2 separate regions of the Homo sapiens genome follow, and region 1 is linked to region 2. The links are contacts of gene promoters, found by promoter capture Hi-C in human tissues and cell types (Jung and others, 2019). All regions are on one chromosome and are shown on one strand. The core of a region is centred on a gene start or on the middle of the fragment in contact, and the rest is flanking DNA. Distances in the headings are between cores, read along the strand shown. Region 1 overlaps TSPEAR (thrombospondin type laminin G domain and EAR repeats). Region 2 holds the start of UBE2G2 (ubiquitin conjugating enzyme E2 G2).

The links. The method cuts DNA at HindIII sites, captures the fragments that hold promoters and counts their contacts. A contact is called where the count stands out against the background at its distance.
Region 1: a fragment that was not itself captured here is called in contact with the fragment with the promoter of UBE2G2 in region 2 in 1 of the 25 tissues and cell types used here (mesendoderm cells).

Annotation. Positions count from the first base shown.
Region 1 is chr21:44,528,570-44,533,707 of GRCh38, reverse strand. It overlaps TSPEAR (thrombospondin type laminin G domain and EAR repeats), which reads left to right. Exons shown (of 12, transcript NM_144991.3): 3 at 1-23; 4 at 2,575-2,665; 5 at 3,754-3,910; 6 at 5,125-5,138. LOC124905038 (a long non-coding RNA gene) reads right to left here. Exons shown (of 2, transcript XR_007067905.1): 1 at 2,171-5,138; 2 at 526-1,423. Among named protein-coding and RNA genes, the nearest start is that of KRTAP10-1, 9.1 kb to the left of the region's middle. The HindIII fragment of the contact is 5,517 bases long and covers 88-5,138 here.
Region 2 is chr21:44,799,417-44,803,948 of GRCh38, reverse strand. UBE2G2 (ubiquitin conjugating enzyme E2 G2) reads left to right here and starts at 2,129. Exons shown (of 6, transcript NM_003343.6): 1 at 2,129-2,243. The coding sequence starts at 2,201. LINC01424 (long intergenic non-protein coding RNA 1424) reads right to left here and starts at 1,708. Exons shown (of 2, transcript NR_109928.1): 1 at 1,313-1,708; 2 at 1-202. RefSeq lists silencers at 1,511-1,560, 2,061-2,280, 2,341-2,400 and an enhancer at 1,948-2,903. The HindIII fragment of the contact is 9,913 bases long and covers 1-4,532 here.

The sequences.
Region 1 (5,138 bases), core at 1,597-4,096, 270 kb after region 2:
GACTGCGGCCTCCCGGTGGACATGTAGGTACCCACCCGGGGAGGGTGCACCTGCAGTCCTCAGAGTCCTGCCAGGCCAGGCATCCTTCAGCCGTGCTCGCCGAGCAACACCTGCAGGAGCTGTCCTGGGGCAGGAGCTGACCAGGGTCAGGAGCCATGGGGTGGAGGGGCAGGAGCCATCCACGGGGCAGGAGCCGACCAGGGGCCAGGAGCCATGGGGTGGAGGGACAGGAGCCATGGGGTGGAGAGGCAGGAGCCGACCAGGGGCCAGGAGCCATGGGGTGGAGGGGCAGGAGCCATCCACGGGGCAGGAGCCGACCAGGGGGCAAGAGCCATTCATGAGGCAGGGGCTGACCATGGGAGGTCAGGTCAGCGTCCGCGCCAGCCTCTGCAGGGCTGCATGGGGTGAGGCAGGCTCACCATCTGTGGGCAGAGTGGACATTGGCGAGAACAGGTGGTGAGTGATGCCCTGGATTCGGGCTGGAAGGGGAATGGGCCTCTCCCGCGGAGCGTTTATGAAGCACACTCCTGTCAAAACCCCGATTTTAATGTTTCTCCACGCCTTAAACACAAAACCCGCTGCACATCAGAGTCAGTGGCTTAGAACAAGGTAAGGGCGATCACACCAAGCGCACTCCTTTTCCAGAAGTAGCTCAGGGGACTTGGCAGGGGACCGGCACTGTGGGGAGGGCGCTAACATCACAACAGGCAGCAGCGGGAAGTCAGAGTAACTCCTTCCCCAACCTCCAGGCTGGAGGCCGAGGCCTGGCTCCGTGACTCCACATGGCAGGTTCCTCGTGGACGAGGGAGCAGATGTTGACAGAAACTCCAAATGAGTACAAGATTATCCTTTGTAGCCTTGGACACAATGGGGGCTTTTGGAAGCCGAGTTCGTTTCTCGTTTTTGCCGTCGCCTGGTTTGTGGCCTGACGGTAGGTCCCCTGGACAGGAGTCCTCAGTCCCCTAGCTCGGCCAGTTGGTTACCCATGTCAGGATCTACCACTGTGGAGCAGGGCTGCGCTTCTGTCTTTTTAATTGCAAATGATCCAGTTTATATTAAATCTATTAAATATTAAATTATTTCGAATATTACTTTCAAAGGTAGGATCTTCTGTTTTGTTATGAAACTTATCGCATAAATATTTTTATTATGCACTTAGCTTAAACACACTTTTATCAGAGCCTCTCTCCCACCATACCCCAAACTCTTTAGGGCCCTCAGGACGGTGATGAGTTCTCAGGTCCTGAGAGCTGGAAGCCTCCCAGGGACGTGCTGTGCAGGCTGAAGACAACCTGACCTAGCAGCAGCTTCCCACCCCGTAAAGAAAGTCCTGGCTGGACGTGAATGCTGCCTGACTTCTGGCTTTGCCACAGCAGCTAGGAATGACGTGGCGGCAGCGCCTGAGGCCTGGACAAACGTTCACCTGCCTCATCAGGAGAAAGGAAGAAATCAGGGTCGAAAGCATAATGATTAGGAATGTTCCCCGAATGTTTTAAAAGTGGACTTCCTGGGGAAGATGGTGGGACATGGGGAGTCACAGGCCTGGAACCAATTGTGGCCACGGAAGAACTTAACCCCTTGGCAGGCTGCTACGGAGGGTACAGGCCAGGGCTTGGGGGCCAGCAGCCTGGACCCTAGCAGAGGCCGAGCTGTGTGCAGAGGACGGGGCTTTCTGGGACAGCAGGGCAGGAGCTGAGCTCACCACGGCCAGCTGCAGCCAGATGGCAAAGACTGGAAGGAGCAGGTGTTTTACAAGAGACAGTGGCAGCGTGGGCGGGAGGCGAGCCCGAAGGCACCCCTGCTCTTCCGCCCAGGAGCTCTAGCCACGCTGTCCCTCAGCGGGCACCCACCTTGCTCCATCTCCGGAGTTCAGCCTCCACGCACTCGTCAAGACCGCCTGCTCCTGACACCCTCATGGGTCACCAGCCTCCTTCCTGTCCTGAAGCCATCTGTCCCAGCACCCCAGGCCGGGTGATGGTGCAGGAGCTCAGTGGAGGGAGGGTGAGTGGGCTGGAGGACCCTGTGCAGGTCGAAGCCACTGCACGTTCACCATGAGATAGGGAAGAACCACTAAGCATGTCACCACGCACTTCTGCAGGAGGCCCTGGCCCTGGGGTGAAGTGCCCCCCCCGAATTCATGTCCACCCAGCACCCGTGAATGTGACCTTACCTGGAAACAGAGTCTTTGCAGTCATCAAGTCAAGCTGAGATCATCCTGGAGTGAGGCGGGCCCTGCTCCAGTGTGACTAGGATCCTTACCAGGAGACAGATACTGGGAGAGTCGGACACTGGAGCGACATGGCCACAGGTCACGGGGAGCACGTGCAGCCACCAGAAGCTGATGAGTCGAGGAAGCGTCCTCCTCTGGAGCCTTCGGAGAAACCCTGCCCCAGCCTGATCCAGGCTACTGGGCTCCAGAGCTGTGCAGGCGATCAGCCCTGTGTGCCATCCTTTGTGTGGCAGCCACAGCACAGATGCACGCTGCTTAGTGAGGGGCTTGTTCCTGTTCCTTCTGTGAGTAAACTGGGGTGACCACTCTCCTATGGCCCTAACACAGTCCTTTGATATTTTCAGAATGGCCGATGTGCCCTTCCCAGCCACCCTGTCAGTGAAAGGAGCTCGATTCTTCGTCGGCAGCCGGAGGAGAGCCAAAGGCCTGTTCATGGCGAGTATGGAGGGGCTGCCTTCCCAACACCCGTGCTGCGGGATGGGACTGCCCCAGGCCAGTTGTCCTACTGCTCTAGTTGACAGATCCTTGGACGTGCTAACTGGGAAAAGAAGGTACAGCGTGCGTGGAGTCTCTACCACAGGGCCTTCACGCTTGCTGTTTCCTCCTGGCACCCTCCTCCCTGATGGTCTTGGGTCCCTGCCCAACGGTCCTCTTCAGGCTGCCCCCACCATGCTGAGCTGATGCCCACACTCTGCCCTGCAGCCCCTTCCCCGGAGCTGTCTTTCCTCAGTAGGGCCTGCTGCTCTCAGGCCAGCTGGGTGTCTGCTCGGTGCCTGTGTCTCCACTCACGTGTGAGTGGGGACCTCACTCCATGAGGCTAGAGGCCTTTGTTCCCTGCTGAGTCCAGTGTCTAGAGCCATGCCTGGCACATAGCAGATGCTCTGAATATTTATTGATGCATGGTTTGACAGATGGATGGGCAGATGGAGGGATGGACAAATGGATGGATGGATGGATGGATGCGTGGAGAGATGAACAGATGGAGAGAAAGATGAATGGATGGATGGAGGGATGGATGCGTGGAGAGATGAACAGATGGAGAGAAAGATGAATGGATGGATGAATGGATGGGTGGATGGAGGGATGGATGGATGAGTGATGGATGAATGGGTGGATGGATGGATGAATGCATGGATGAATGGATGGGTAGGTGGAGGGATGGATGGATTAGTGATGGATGAATGGATTGGACTGATGGATGGACAGATGGATGGATGAATGCATGGATGAACAGGATGGGTGGATGGGCTGTTGGATGAGCAGAGTAGCCAGTCACTCTAAGTTCACATAAAAAACCCCTTCTGTGGTTCAGTTCCCTCGGAAGGGGGGCAATTCTTCACCATTGCTCCCATGGCCTCCTCAGTAACCATCATGTAAACTCTTCCCAGTTAGCTCTGCAAAAGCTTAGATTCCATCCACCCGAGCCTCCTCCGGGCTCTGGATGGGCCAAGCTCAGTGGTCGCCTCCTCAGCGGGTCCTTCCCCAGCAGCGCGGGCCTGAAGGAGCTGTCCCTCTCTCTGCAGGGACTGGTGAGGCAACTGGTCCTGCTGCCGGGCTCAGACGCCACCCCAAGGCTGTGTCCCAGCAGGAACGCCCCGCTGGCGGTGCTGTCCATCCCACGGGTCCTGCAGGCTCTCACGGGGAAGCCAGAAGATAACGAGGTGCTAAAATATCCCTATGGTTAGTAGGGGGGCCACCCGCCCCCACACCAAAGGCAGATGCGAGAGCCCTGGCCTCACACCAGGCGGGAACTCAGGGCTCAGCTCTCAGCCCCTCTCGTGTGCCTGCCCCCCTCATCACTGCTACGGGGGGCAGCGGTCATATTGGCCAGGGGGATACTCGGGGCCCACCCCTAGGAAGGCAGGCGGCACCATCAGACAGGCCAGTGTCATCCTGCCCTTCCCTCCAAGCACTCCCACGACAGCCATCCAGCCCCTTCCTGGGGACCCCAGGCAGAAAACAGGCCTAACTTACTTTAGAAAGTCTGTCCAGAGCTATCTGACATCCCTCATCCCCTTTTGCCCCCCAAGGACAGCGTTTGGGCCATTTCTCCCCACCCCGCCTCTGTCCCACCATCATCCAGACCAGCCCGCCCCAGTCGGGCCCACTCTGGCCCTACACTCACGTCTTCCACGATCCCCCGGCCCAGAGGGCCTCCCCGCTTGATTTTCTCTTGTGTGAAGTTACAAGGGTGACTGTATTTATTTAAACCACACTCCTGCCATGGAGAATCTGAAATGCCCCTCCCCGCCGCATCCCCACTGCTCTCAGCCAACCCGAGGGGCAGTGAGGTGGAGAACAGCCGAGCCCCCGAGCCTCAGGGTTAGCGGTTACCAAGTAGGGGAGCCCCCACCTCCAACACATCCGGGCCGCATGGTATACTGTGTCACACCGCTGGCCAGCACCGGCTGGCAGGTGCACAGATGTCCCACATAGAGTCAAGAGGTGGCAGAATTAGGACCCATGGTGGGGTGTGATTACTGGAAGTGATGAGATCAAACCGCCACAGGTTCAAGCCAAGCCGTCGTTAAGATACACCACTGTCAACAGGGACTCCCTCCTGAGGGGGGACCATGCCCTGTGCAATCGCTGAGGACTCTCAGAGGAGCAGGCCTTTTCTGCCTCAATGGGATGGAAAGCCACGCCTTTCAGAGTGGACAGAGGGTGGGCTGACCATATAGGGGGCATCATGATGTCCTTCGTCACCGGTAGGCCAGGTTCTCAATTCCCCGTCTGTGATGTGGCAGGCTTGTGCCAAGGTGCCTGCAGGGGCCCTTCCAGGCCCGCATGCAGAGGCTGAGGCAGGGCAGCCTGGTTTGGGGGCCTCTTCCTGTGTCGTCTTCCTTTGGGGGCACTGGCTTGCTGGAAACTCATCTTCCTGGTCTTCCCCTCAGAAACCAACATTCGA
Region 2 (4,532 bases), core at 880-3,379:
TGCCCAGCTAAGCTTGAATTCCACATAAGGTACTGAACGACGTCCCTGAAATGTTGCAGAGAGCCTGGTTCTCTGAAGATAAGGTGTTGTAACAGTCCTGTTGAGGGGAGAGACTGCCATCTTGTTTCAGCAACTCATATTTCAAGTGACTTTTGTCACTTGAAGCTGAAGCTAATCCTGATAGAAGCTGTAAACCACATTTCTGAAAAATAATAATTGGAAAACATACAGTGTTCTGCAGTAAGATGTCTGAAAAAGATGGATAAAATTATGAAAACATCAAGCATATGTTGCAGTGAACATCACGGCATTGACAGTAATGCTTTATTGCCCACATCTCCCATAACTGGAAAAGGGGAGCTGCTCTCCTTTAGGAGCACTGGACAGACTGCCTTGGGGTGTGGGGTGCTGTCTGATTAGAGAGAGAGCAGCTCTTGAATGGGGGAGGAAACACCTCCACTGTGACTTTTTGCACATTGCATTTGCACAAATTACTCTCTGAAACAGTCTCAAAGGACCATGTCATTTTATAAAGCACTGTGGTCATTTGAAAAGATGGAGGTAGACTGAAATTTTGAATTTTGGGGAATTTTCCTACACTATGCATACTTGTGAAGTTTGTATTGTTAAATTTCATTTGATTTGACAAATCCGTGTTAAGAGTATACGATGTCCAGGTACAGAGGCTGCCCCAGAAACAAGACAGAAGTAGGCAGGGACCCATGGCTCTCATGGAACACGCTTTTGGTTAGAGGCAACAGATAAGGGTAATACATTTATAGCATGCCAGTAAGTTCTATAGTACGGTGTGTTGAGTAGGTGTTGCAGAGAAAAAGGTATGCGGTGAAGGCCGGGTGGTGACGGCCTAGGCCACACTGAAGAGGCAACATTTGAGCAAAGACTGAAAGAGCAGGTGGGAAGAGTCGGGGACAAGAGCCGCCAGAAAGTGTTTCCGGGGAGGGAAGAGTCAGGGACTCTGAACCAGGCCAGGGCAGCTGGAGTGGAGTGAGAGGGAGGGAGGGTCTGGGAGTATGGCGGGGTGACCGGAGGCAGAGCAAAGCACTGCAGGACTTCAGCTTTACTGAGTGAAATGGGCGGAGCAGAGTGTGAATGTGATCAGACTTCTTTTCAAGGGATCATCTGCAATGCTGGAAAGGAAAAGACAAATGATAGATTATTGCAACAAACAGCCAGGCAAGAGATGCAAACTTTTTTTGCAAAGGTGTGTGTGTATATACATCCTTGCACCGGACAGCCACGAAGCACCTACTGTGCTGTGAAGTCAGTAAGGATGTGGGTTAAAATCGCTCACCTCACAGCGGGTCAATCGGGAAAGCACACCCACTCACTACAGCCATTATGGGAAAAAGGGCTCGCCCCTTACAGGATCCTCAACTGTGGAGAGGCCGGGAGCCCACGCGGGGCGCTGGGGAGTCTCTCAGCACCCCAGGGGTTCGGGCAGGGACCTGAGCCGCGCCCTCTCTCCCGGGGGTGCCCTGGGGTCGAGGCTGCTCGGCAGAGCCGGCGGTCAGTTCGAGCCGCGGGCCCGAACAGGGCTCTCCCCGCGGCTCTCTCCCTCGGAGTAGAAGGTGCTGGACCCGAACTCCAGCGGAGCCGCACAACACGTGGAGGAAAAGCGCCAGGACAGCTAACCTTCCCACCTTTTCAAACCTGAAACCCGGCCGGCTGGGGACGGTTGGAATGTTCAGTGCGTACCCGCACCTCAGGCCCCTTGTCTCCAGCCCCAGACCGCCCCGCGACCATCCTCCCCACCCCCCGACCTCTTATCTCGTCCCCGCCCTGTCTCCCCAACCTCCATCCTCCCCTCCACAACCCCCGTCCTCCCGCCCTTCGGCCACGCGCGGCTGGCACAGAACAGGCAGTTAGCGCACACACACTGGAACAGGCGCCACCGTTCAGGAAGTCTCTACAAGACCAGGACCCTGAGGCCTCTGGAAGTGCCGGGACCGAACCAACCCCGCAGAGCGACTAAGGCGAGGGCAGGAGCCAAGAGAATCGTAGCCGCGGTCGCGGGTTGAGCTCCCACCACCCGGACAGCGCGCCTCGGCGATCGCGCACGCGCCACGCCCCGGAAGAGTTCCTGGGCCCGCGACGGTGGCCCGGAAGCAGTCCCCGGTGTCGGGGCAGGAGGCACGCGCGCGGCTGAGGCGAGGTCGCTCGGCGCAGCTGTTGCGGGGCCATGGCGGGGACCGCGCTCAAGAGGCTGATGGCCGAGTACAAACGTGAGTCTGGGGACCCGGGCCGTCAGCAGCGTCCCGCGTTCCTGCTCCCGGGCCCGCGTCGTCCGGCGGGGCTGGGGCAGGGAGCCTGGCGGGGGAGCCGGGCCCGGGGCCTCCACCGTGAGCCCCCCTGTGGGTCCCGCGGAGTGCCGCGCCCTGCGCCCGCTGCCCACTCTCACGCGTGAAGTCGTGAAGAGAAGCCTTCCCAGCATCAGTAAAGGCAGCGCCGGCGCCGTGTTAGTTGAGAGCACACACAGTTGAGTCTTTGCGGGCTTGTTTTTTTCTCTTCTATTTTTTCTTTTCTTGGCAGCCTTGAGAACGTGCAGTGAGAGCTTGAGGAAGAAGGCCTGACTTGCTGCTGCGGAATTAGGAGGGAAAAGTGTATGCGTTAAAAGGGGAAAGGCTCGTTGGTGGAGCTTTGAAAGGTCAGATTTTGGCTTTCCCTCTAATGAAGGAAAAGGGTTTTTGAACAGTGCCACCTGTCACTCCTCCTAGGTAGTGTTGAGGAAACCTCTTGAGTGCTTTCCTACCCGGTAAATTAGATATTTCTAATGTCTGAGGAGAGCGAAGGGAGAAATGAGAACCTAGGAACACTCGGCATTCCATCGTTTTACACCGAATGCCCGCTTGGAAGAACTGCTGCGAGAAGTCTTGGAATACCATTGTGTTGAAAGCGCCAGGAGCCTGAGTCGCCGATGGAGACGAGATAGTAGCCGGCTAAGAGCAGGGCCTGAGTTCAGACCCGGCCTCTCTGCTTGTTAGCTCTTTGACCTTGTTCCTCTCTCTGTCTCTGCAGTTTCCTTGTCTTAAAAGGTTAAACTTGATACTGCAGGTGAAGTGCTTAGCAAAATACCTGATGTGTAACCCTTAATAAAGTTAGCTGCTGCTTTTGTAATTAGATTGAGGATAATTTTGGAAGAAAGTTAAGCTAAAAGAATGAATGTGAGAAAAAAAATAAGTGGTGAATATACATGTAGCTTGATTTCGTAAAACTATTGGTGACACCGCCCAGTAAGAGTTGATGTTTGGCTTAAGCAGACCAAAACGTTGCAAATACAGGCTCACTCACGTATGGTCATTCTTCCCTTGGTATCTGGAGGGGATTGGTTCCAGGCCCCGCTGCAGATACCAGAATCCTCGGATGCTCAAGTCCCTACTATAAGGTGGCGTGGTATTTGCATTTAATGTATGCATAGCCTCTCATAACTTTTAAATCATCTCAAGGTTACTTATAGTACCTAATGCAATGTAAGTGCTGCACAAATAGTTACACTGATTTTTTTTACTTGTATTTTTAAATCGTCATTTTTTATTGTTATTTTTTTCAAATATTTTGTATTCCTGGTTGGTCGAATCCATGGATATGCAGCCGCAGATACACAGGGCCTCCTGTAAACGTTCAAATAACGCTCGCCACCTAGTGTCTGCTAAAGCAGAACATAAAGGCACACCTCAGTTTCCCGCGCGCTTTGCTTTATTGAGCTTCACTTCGCAGATCTTGCATTTTTTACAAGTTTACAAGTTTTTTACAAGCAACCCTGCATGGAAGCAAGTCTGTTGGCACCATTTTTGCTCGCTTCGTGTCTCTCTCTTACATTTTAATCTATTACTGTGATCTATGATCAGTAATCTTTGATGTTACTATTGTAATTATTTTGGGGCATCACAAACTATGCCCATAAAAGATGGTAGTCCTAATAAATGTTGTGTGTGCTTCACTGACTGGCTGTTTCCCCATCTCTCTCCCGGCCTCTCTCTTCCCTGAGACAAAACAACATTGAAATTAGGCCAATAGTAACTGTACAGTGGGCTCAAGTGTTGAAGTGAAGAGTTGCACTCTACCCACTTCAAATCAAAAGCTAGAAATGATTAAGTTTAGTGAGGAAGGAATGTTGAAAGTCAAGATAGGCTGAAAGCTGGGTCTCTTGTTAGCCAAGTTGTGAATGCAAAGGAAAAGTTCTTAAAGGAAATTAGAAGTGCTGCTCTGTTGAACACAATGAATGATAAAGTGAAAAAGCCTTACTGCTGATATGGAGAAAGTTTTAGTGGTTTGGATAGAAGATCAAACCAGCCATAACATTCCTTTAAGCCAAAGCCTAATCCAGAGCAAGGTCCTAACTCTTCAGTTTTATGAAGGCTGAGAGCAGTGAGGAAGCTGCAGAAGAAAAATTGGGAGCTAACAGAGGTTGGTTCATGAGATTGAAGTAAATAACCTGTCTCCATAACAGAAAAGCACAAGGTGAAGCAGCAAGGTCTCCAGAAGATCTAGCTAAGATCAAGATGAAAGTGGCT